3 separate regions of the Homo sapiens genome follow, and all the other regions are linked to region 1. The links are contacts of gene promoters, found by promoter capture Hi-C in blood cells and fetal thymus (Javierre and others, 2016). All regions are on one chromosome and are shown on one strand. Each heading gives the region's core, a stretch centred on a gene start or on the middle of the fragment in contact. The rest is flanking DNA. Distances are from core to core; before and after follow the strand shown. Region 1 holds the start of CNOT2 (CCR4-NOT transcription complex subunit 2). Region 2 holds the start of MON2 (MON2 regulator of endosome-to-Golgi trafficking). Region 3 holds the start of C12orf56 (chromosome 12 open reading frame 56).

What was found. Contacts are between HindIII fragments. The CHiCAGO score rates a contact against its expected background, and 5 or more counts as called.
Region 2: a contact is called between the fragment with the promoter of MON2 here and the fragment with the promoter of CNOT2 in region 1, in 3 of 17 cell types (total B cells, non-activated CD4 T cells and total CD8 T cells). The highest score is 6.4, in total B cells.
Region 3: a contact is called between the fragment with the promoter of C12orf56 here and the fragment with the promoter of CNOT2 in region 1, in 1 of 17 cell types (total CD4 T cells). The highest score is 5.1, in total CD4 T cells.

Annotation. Positions count from the first base shown.
Region 1 is chr12:70,242,053-70,244,906 of GRCh38, reverse strand. CNOT2 (CCR4-NOT transcription complex subunit 2) reads right to left here and starts at 1,474. Exons shown (of 16, transcript NM_014515.7): 1 at 1,427-1,474. It overlaps PRANCR (progenitor renewal associated non-coding RNA), which reads left to right and starts at 1,547. Exons shown (of 5, transcript NR_120460.1): 1 at 1,547-1,595; 2 at 2,014-2,083; 3 at 2,678-2,726. RefSeq lists enhancers at 745-884, 1,615-1,814, 989-2,188 and silencers at 1,185-1,444, 1,516-2,055. The HindIII fragment of the contact is 4,785 bases long and covers 714-2,854 here.
Region 2 is chr12:62,465,349-62,468,202 of GRCh38, reverse strand. MON2 (MON2 regulator of endosome-to-Golgi trafficking) reads right to left here and starts at 1,377. Exons shown (of 35, transcript NM_015026.3): 1 at 885-1,377. The coding sequence starts at 995. RefSeq lists enhancers at 721-1,220, 1,216-1,325 and a silencer at 1,356-1,675. The HindIII fragment of the contact is 1,301 bases long and covers 1,326-2,626 here.
Region 3 is chr12:64,389,392-64,392,245 of GRCh38, reverse strand. It overlaps C12orf56 (chromosome 12 open reading frame 56), which reads left to right and starts at 1,488. Exons shown (of 13, transcript NM_001170633.2): 1 at 1,488-1,932. The coding sequence starts at 1,681. The HindIII fragment of the contact is 6,871 bases long and covers 1-2,854 here.

The DNA of each region.
Region 1 (2,854 bases), core at 225-2,724:
AAATCAACAGTCACACTTATGATTCCGAGCTCTAAAAATTCCTAATATTAAGCATGACACTAAATATGTTCAACTTTGAACCTTAAATTCAAGTTGGCCTCCCTCGTGAACTGATTTTAACTGAGTACTTTTTACCATTTCGCCAAGAACTAAGGGTTCAAAGCAGTGTACTTAATTATGAGGAATTGCCCAAACGATTTTAAAAGGAGTGGGATTCTCTGACCAAGACTTTTATGAAAATGAAACAAAATATGTTGCACTCAGTCTTCCGGATGTTGAAAAGTGAAGATGTCTCCAAGGATTCGAAGGAAGTTGATGTTTAGGTTCCCTCTGAGAGGGTGGTACCCTTAATGTAAGACTTTTGTGGTAGTAATACCGTACCTACAGGCCTGGAATAAATATAAGGTCTAAAACCTTGGAAATACTTTGTATAAAAGAAAACTCCAATTCTCTTTTGCTAAGGACCACAGTTACCAAGAGTTATCAGCTTTCACCCGGACAGACAACAGTGCTTCAATGAAGAACTACAAAGGCCTCTTTTAACCCTACTCTTTTCTTCTGTTAAACTTTTAAGCGAGACCTACGACAGCAAAAGGTGGAGAGGCCCCTGCGGAAGTAGAAACCCAGGACTTGCAACTTCACAGACAGAAGCGTCTGTGGTTCCTCCGCCGCCCCAGGATCATCCGGACTCAGTCTACGACACTACGGAAGCTTCACCTTCCTGGTGCGGTGGCAGAGGCGGCATCGCAGTTGCATTCCTTCTCCCTCCACCATGCACAGCCTTCGGTATCCCAGGGCCTGCAGGATCCTGACACCCGTTAGCCAGTCCAGTGTCTCCCATCTGACACTTGCAAACACACTAACAGAAATACACATAACTGGCAGATGATATACGTGTATTGAGAGAAGGTAAGAAGCCACAGACAGCACCAGCTGCCGGGAAGGCGGCAGAGCCGTCTAAAGCGGGCTCGAGCTCGTCGGCCACGGCCACGGCCGCTGCCGCCTTCTCTTCTCCCCCAGGAAGCAGCGCGGCGGCAGCGGCTCCTCCGCGCTGGCGGGAGCCTAGGGGAGTGGAGTCTGGGGAAGCCCCACCACTCGCGGATGGGACCGGGCCTAGGATCTGGAGCTGCTGCTGCTGCAGCGGCCCGAGTACAGCGACGCTTTACGTCCGGTCCACCACCACCCCCATACACACCCCCTCCCTCCCTCCACCGCCGCCACCCCCCTCCCCGCCCGCTCCGCTCTCCGTCTCTCGATTGGAGCCGAGACAAAAGCAACGGGAAGCGGTGGGCCGGGACGCTACCGGCGGACCCTGGGCGCGACCGGACCGGCCCCGGGGCATTCCCCCGCCTTGCGGGGGCCCCGAATCTGCCGCCCCCGCCGCGCGCCCCGCTGCCAGACTTCCGAAAATTTACCAAAAACTCACCGCATGAATTTTCTTGTCCCGCGGATCCAAGATGGCGACGTATCCACCGCGGAGGCTGCTGGGAGCAAGACCTTTACCCTCTGACCGCCGCCGTGACCCCCGTCGCTCCGGCTTCCCTCCAGGCGGCAGCGGAAGGTGGGAGCGACGACTGCAAAACGGCAGCGATGGGGTGGGTAGGCAGGCCGCTTTCAGCGCGCTTCTAACAAGGTGGAGAGAGGCGCTTCACTTCCCTACCGCCCTTACCGCCGCTCCGTCTTGTCTCCCACCGACTCACAGGGAGGCTTGCTGCTCCTCCGCGGCCGTTACAGAGAGCGGGGCTTCTGCGGCCGCTACCGTTTCCCTGGGGCTAGGTTGCTTCGCAGAAGGCTCTGGCCCTGAGTCCGAGGGGGACTGCGGGGTCCAGGGGCGATGAATGGTGAGGTGGCTTCAGTCCGCCCTCCCCGGGGACGCTGAGCGTGTTCGTGTTCGTGTTTGTGTTTGTGTTTGTGTTGGACACCCCCGCCCCCGCACGTCCGCCTCGTCACTCCTCCCCTCCTCACTCCCGCCACCTGGAGCGAATCTGATCGTGTCCCTGTTTCCTCCCTCAGCTCCCGCAACCTCCGGAGCTTGTGCGCGTACTTCAGGGACCGGCACCACGTCACCGTCACCTCCTGAGTAGTGAGTTCCCCTCTGATGAAACCACTGGTGTGTTTACTCACCATCCCCACCATTTTTTTTTCCCCAACCTGATGGAAGGAAGTACATAATGGAGAGCAAGTTTTTAAAGCACGGTCGTGTCGTGTGAACTTGCTCTAGCCAAATTAGGTTTATAGCACTTTTTTTGGCTCTCATTACCTCCAGTCCCCACATAAACAAGAGTGACCAGCTGGGTCATCCGCAAGACCGTTTGAAATTATTGTGGCTTGGGTGGAAACTTAAAGGAGTGAAGTATCTGCTTTCCAGAAAAATCGTTGTCATTCAAAGTGAAATTAAACTTGTTTTCTTTGCAATAATTCGCCTTTATTTCCTTGTATATCTGTAAACTCTTCACTTTTTTGTAATTACTAGACAATTCGGACTTAAAAAGAGCCTCAGCATGTGTATTTTGGAATTGTGTAGCTTCATAATGTGAAAATTATTCTTTTCTATTTGAGTAAAGTACAGTTAATTTGAAGTAAATAAAATTTCTATTTCCATTGGTTGTTTCTTTTAAAAAGTCACCTTTTACTTACAAAAGAATCACTGTAATCCAGTTTACATTTATCATTGAAGGTCAAAAGCAAGAAATAGGAAGAAACACAAGCATACTATAAAATAAAAGGTAACTGTCATGTTTTTGAAGGTAAGGTGTTTTGACATATCAGCAGACATTGTGTGAATTTATTTCAACTCCTAGTGGTACTGGTGTAGGTAGAAAATGTTTTGCTTGGTTATTCATTTCATCAAACA
Region 2 (2,854 bases), core at 128-2,627, 7.8 Mb after region 1:
TAGCCGGGCCTGTTTTTGGTGGGTTTTTTTGTTTGTTTTTTTTTTTTAGAGAATTAAAATGGCATTTTAAGAGAAAAAGCAAATAGTAACCAAATGTTAAATATTTCACCTCAAGAACTATTTGGAGAATTAAATTTCCATGTATTATTTACTGGGATCTCTTTAATAATACCCTTCTGCTCTGACATCTTTCCCATACATAATATAAAACCATCCTTTAACCCTATTTTACAGCTGGAAAAAAAAACCCGAAGCTCAAAGAGGTTAAGATTTATTGCTGGAACTAAATTCAGGTGTATTCGCTCTGACTGCAAGCCCAACTTCCCACTACAGTACTGCTCATAACAAGGTTTAACATGATTATGTGGATCTTCAATATTCTTCATAAATTAGGTGGCTCTGGATAGTTTATTAACACGTCAAAGGATTGATACAGAGTTAAGCTGAATGATATATACCAGAAGGAAAATTGTTTCCAATTCAGTGATATGCCATAAACGTGAGGAGTACAGGTTTCAACAAGATGGGTGGATACTCGTTTCGGGGAGCAACAAACAAGTTTTTCAATTTTGGTTTGGCCAGTTTCAAGTAAGAAAAAGGCCAGAATAGGCTAGTGCACAGTACACCTAGCTGGATTAACTGAATAGGCTCACTTCATGAACTTCACTCCTAAACTGGGAGGACAGGAGAGGGGAGAAAATCAAAGTGCCTCAGCCCTCTCCAGTGGAAACTATAAAAAGCCCTTGTGGAACAACCCACCGACTCACAAATCTGGAAAGGTGAGGCCTGAATGAAAATTAGGACTGGAAACTGGGGTGAAGCACTGAGTCTAACAGGACCAGGCATGCTCACAGTGCCTTCTCCTGACGTCACCTGAAGCTTACCTCTTTGACAGGTGGGAATTTCTTCTTGCACTCCAGTGACAAGGCGCGCAAGTCGCTCTGCATATTCTCCAGCAGCTTCTTCACCGCCTCGGGGCTGCTGGTGCCGGACATGATCCTCCAAGGTCCCAGCCAATTTCCGAGAGGTACAAACAAGCTCTGGCACGGTCAGCTCCTTAGGGCCACAGGCAGCTCCCTCCCGGTGTCTCTGGTCCTTCAGCAGCCCGCTTCTTGGGCCCTGGGCTGCGAACCCGGAGCCTGCTCGAGCGTCCCCCAGCAGCTTCCCCGCAACACCTCTGGCTTTTCTCGGAGGCGCCCCCCGCAGTCGCACCGTCCCGCTAGGCTCCGCCGACTCTGGCCGAGAAACCCACAAGGCGGGCAGGTCCCTCCGCTGCCGCGGGGCCCAGCCACACCGGGTGTCACCAGCCAACCTGGCAAGAAGCTTCAGCGCCAGCTCCCCAGGCCCCTAAGACTCGCCGACGCCATTAGCCGAGTCGCCCACAATTCCGAGCGCTGCCGGGACACGTCAGCCGCACTTCCGGGTACCGTGGCCTCCGCCACCGCCGCGGCCAACCCCGGCGGCAGGCCGTCGGCGGGGCGGGGCTGGGGCTTGGCCATGCTCGGGGCAGGCGGGATTCCGGGTGGGCAGCGATTCCCACAGCCCCACCCCCGGAATCAAGTAGGCTAGACAGGGTTTAAGGCGTCAAGATTCGCTTCGTTTTCATTAACAAGTGCCTGAACAGAGCCCCCGAGTACTCCTTGGCATATCTCTTTGCGTATGTTTGTGTTAAATTGTATTTCGGTGTAAATAATTTGTTTCCCTGTAGATTAATCTTAACGTGTCTCCTCCCGCTTCATTTCGAATCTCTGGACTAGTGGCCCCAAATCAGTGGCTACCTCCTGTTAATATACATTTTTTTTCTTTAAACGCAACTGGTGCACTTACTGTGGGGTAGCCTCTTATTTTCCTAATCTCTAAAATGAGACTACCCTCTGCTCCACGCATTCCGCTGGCCTCCCATCTCACTCAAAGTAAAAGCCAAAATTCCTCCAATCACCTACCAGGCGCTACGAGATCTGTCCCGGCCCCTTTACTGGCAGATGCTCCCAGCTAAAAGGAGAGTTTCGCGAGTTGGGCTGCCGGTTCTTCCTCTTTTTAAATCTTATTTTGTTTCCTGTGTATCTCCAGCACCTAGAACAGTGTCTGGCATATAGCAGGTAATCAGTACATACTTGTTGAATGAATACCCTTCTATTATAAAATCAGAGTTTCGAGGCTCAAATAAGGCACAGATACATAAAAGCCTTCATCAGGTCTGAAGTGCCAAATAAATATGAGGCAAAAGCCAAACAGAAAAATCTTCATCTGTATTTCCCCAAGATCCAGGTTGGTCTACTTTTTCCCCAAGACATTTTGCAGCTGCTGGTCAGAAAGCAGAAAATGAGGGAGGAAAAACCAGAAACAGTAGAGATGAAGAAACCAACACCTTCAGACAGCTGAGCTTATGACATGATGGAAGACAGTGAGCCATGAGATTGTCAGTGGATAGCGCTGTTTGGCTGTAACAGAGCTACTTTGTAAGCTAAATAATTTTATTTTATTTTTCCTTCTGATAAGAAGCAAAGCAAGGATGGATAAAGGGGACAGATGAGGTAATAGTAGAGAGCTCCTAGGGCAGTAATTTTGATCATTTGTGCCTATTACACAACTTCTGGGAAACTTGACACCTCCTATGGTATAAGCTTTATGTATGAAAACTGGTGAATTTAGCAAAAAAGTTCAAATGGAATATATGGCAGACATTATTCTTGAGGTCTCAGGGAGCTTGTAAAAACGAGGCGCTTTTTTTGGGTGGGGGGTGGAGACGGAGTCTCACTCTGTCACTCAGGCTGGAGTGCAGTGGCGCGATCTCCACTCACTGCAACCTCCACCTCCCAGGGTCAAGCAATTCTCCTGTCTCAGCCTCCCGAGT
Region 3 (2,854 bases), core at 239-2,738, 5.9 Mb after region 1:
CAGAAAAAAAATTAGCCAGGCATGGTGGTGTACACCTGTAGTCCAAGCTACTTGGGAGGCTGTGGCAGGAGAATGGCTTGAACCCAGGAGGCAGAGGCTGCAGTGAGCCGATATCATGCCACTGCACTCCAGCCTGGGTGACAGAGGGAGACTCTGTCTCAAAAAAAAAAAAAAAAAAAAAGTTTAGCCAGACCAAAACATTTCTCTTTCCCTTTGTACTAGTGTAGTCTACAATATCTGTTTATGGATTGTAATATATTTATACCTTCTTTCCACAAGGGATTTGAAGTTGCTTATAACATACAGTATACAATAATAAAATATGTAGAAAGGGAGAATATAAAGAATATATCAAATTTGATTCAGGGTTGCTGGCAGCCACAGCAATGAACGATATGGTTTCATTATCAGGTTTTTGGGTCAATGGGGAGGGGAAGAGAATAACTTTTCTAGGATTCGAAATAAAAAATGGAACTTCTGACTTAGAGCATTTCTGTTGTGCCCTTCTCATTTCTCTAACCTAATTAGTAAGTTATTCTTGGCCTGTAAAAACTAAGGAATACTTACTCCTCTGCAGCCTCAGGGTATGTAATCCGCATTCTTCAGTCTATCAGCTTCAACTTTTCAAGATGCCAGCATCACCCATTCATTCTTCCTGCATAGATTGTCCTGGGCATTGGAAACAAAACCATATGCCTTAGGTTGGTTTGGGTGTGCTCACATCAATTCATGTGAAGAATCCCTTTCTCAAAGGCTGGGCGAGGTGACTTAACGCCTGTAATCCCAGCACTTTGGGAGGCCGAGGCGGGCGGATTACCTGAGGTCGGGAGTTGGAGATCAGCTTGACCAACATGGAGAAACCCCGTTTTTACTAAAATATACAAAATTAGCTGGGCGTGGTGGCGCATGCCTGTAATTCCAGCTACTCAGGAGGCTGAGGTAGGAGAATCGCTTGAACCCGGGAGGGGGAGGTTGCGGTGAGCCGAGATGGCGCCATTGCACTCCAGCCTGGGCAACAAGAGCAAAGCTGCGTCTCAAAAAAAAAAAGAGAAAAGAAAAAAAAAATCCCTTTCTCACTGGTTGGAGAAAGAAGACCTATGTTTACACTCCGACAATATCAGAAAGCTGTGCCAGGCCATGTTATAACCAAAAGCTAAATCTGTGTGATTGGGTTTAATAGGTTTCTAGGGTTGTTAAAAATAAATCGGTAAATTAAACTCTTTCAAGTTTCTAACAGGAAACCAGATTGAAGCTGGCTTCCATTACCAATAAAGTTTGTATTGGATGGTGTGATCCGCAACAGAGTACGCAGTGGTGGGGACTGGCATTAGGGGTGGGCGGGAGAGACCCTAAAAATCCACCGCCCTTCGGCCGCAGGGGACTTCACGGTGATGAGCCCGAGGTGCCCATCAACTCGGGCCTGAAGGACCAGCGTCTTGCCCCGCCCATCGCCGTCTGAGGTTAGGACAAAGATCGAGAGGCTGGACAGGGCTGGGGAGGGCGCTCCAGGGAAGCCGACCTAGCGTCGATTCCTGCAGTTGCGGCCCGGGTCCCCGCGCCTGGAGAGGAGGCGACGCGTGGCCGGCGGCTTTGTGGCGCGCGGGTTCCAGCGCGGGGGCGGGGAGAGGGCGAGCTGAGGGCCTCGAGTCCCAGCACTCCGCCACGCTGCGGGCGCCGGGCATGGCCAGCCCCTTGCCGTCCGGCTTCCCCGCGCGCAGGAACAGCCGCCTGGATGTGTTCCTGCGGCGGCATCTGCCGCCCGAGGTCTACGACGCGGTCCGCGCCTACGAGCCATGCATCGTGGTGTCCAACTCTGAGAACCACATCCTCAAGTATGTGGTGCTAAGCGACCGGCTCGTCTACCTAACCGAGAACCCGCCCAAGTCCATCCGGCGGGTAGTGGCTCTGCGGGACGTCGTGGCCATTGACCTGGTGAGCGGCGCGGGTGGGCAGGCGGGCTCGGGAGCGCAGTGAGAACTCCCGGCTGGGGCCCCCAAACCCAGCCCTCCTGCGCGGGGAGGGCTGCCCCATCCTGCCCTCGACTCCCCTCCTCTTATTTGAGAACGAGGAACACAGGGAAGCTGTGGATTGCTGTGAGCACTCCTAATACAAACACGTCTCCCATTCTCCTCGTGTCTGCCTGTTCACCCATTCTCCCGCCTCCCCTACCCCACGTAGGGCTACAGGTTTGAGAACCGAGCTCCCTATCAAAAATACCTTTTAAAGTCATTCCTTTGTTAACAAAGCACCTAGTCAGTGCCAGGCACTGTGCTAGACTCGGAGGATGCAAAAACGAAAGAGGGCCCCTACCTAGAAGCAGTCGCTGGAGGGCTAGAAAGCCAACACCCGTGCAAATAAATGCTGTGTGTTAAGTGCTGTTATATCTCATTTACTTTTTTGCCCCCGATGCTTAGAGCATGTTAGATGCTCAATAAGAATAAATGCATAAGGCCGGGTGCCGTGGATCACGCCTATAATCCTTACACTTTGGGAGGCCAAGGTGGATAGATCACCGGGGGTCAGGGGTTCGAGACCAGGCTGGCCAACATGGTGAAACGCCGTCTCCACCAAAAGTACAAAAATTACCCAGGCGTGGTCGTGTGCACCTGTAATCCCAACTACTTGGGAGGCTGAGGCACAAGAATCGCTTGAACCTGGGAGGCGGAGGTTGCCGTGAGCCGAGATCGCCCCACCTGCACTCCAGCCTGAGCTACAGAATGAGTGAGACACCGTTCCCCTCCACCCCCTCCCCAGCAAAAGAATAAATGCATGAATAAGCAGATGCGTTAATGAGATGCGCACAGGACGCTTGGCAATCTCAGGCGGCTCACTTGATCCAAACTGGGCGCAGGGC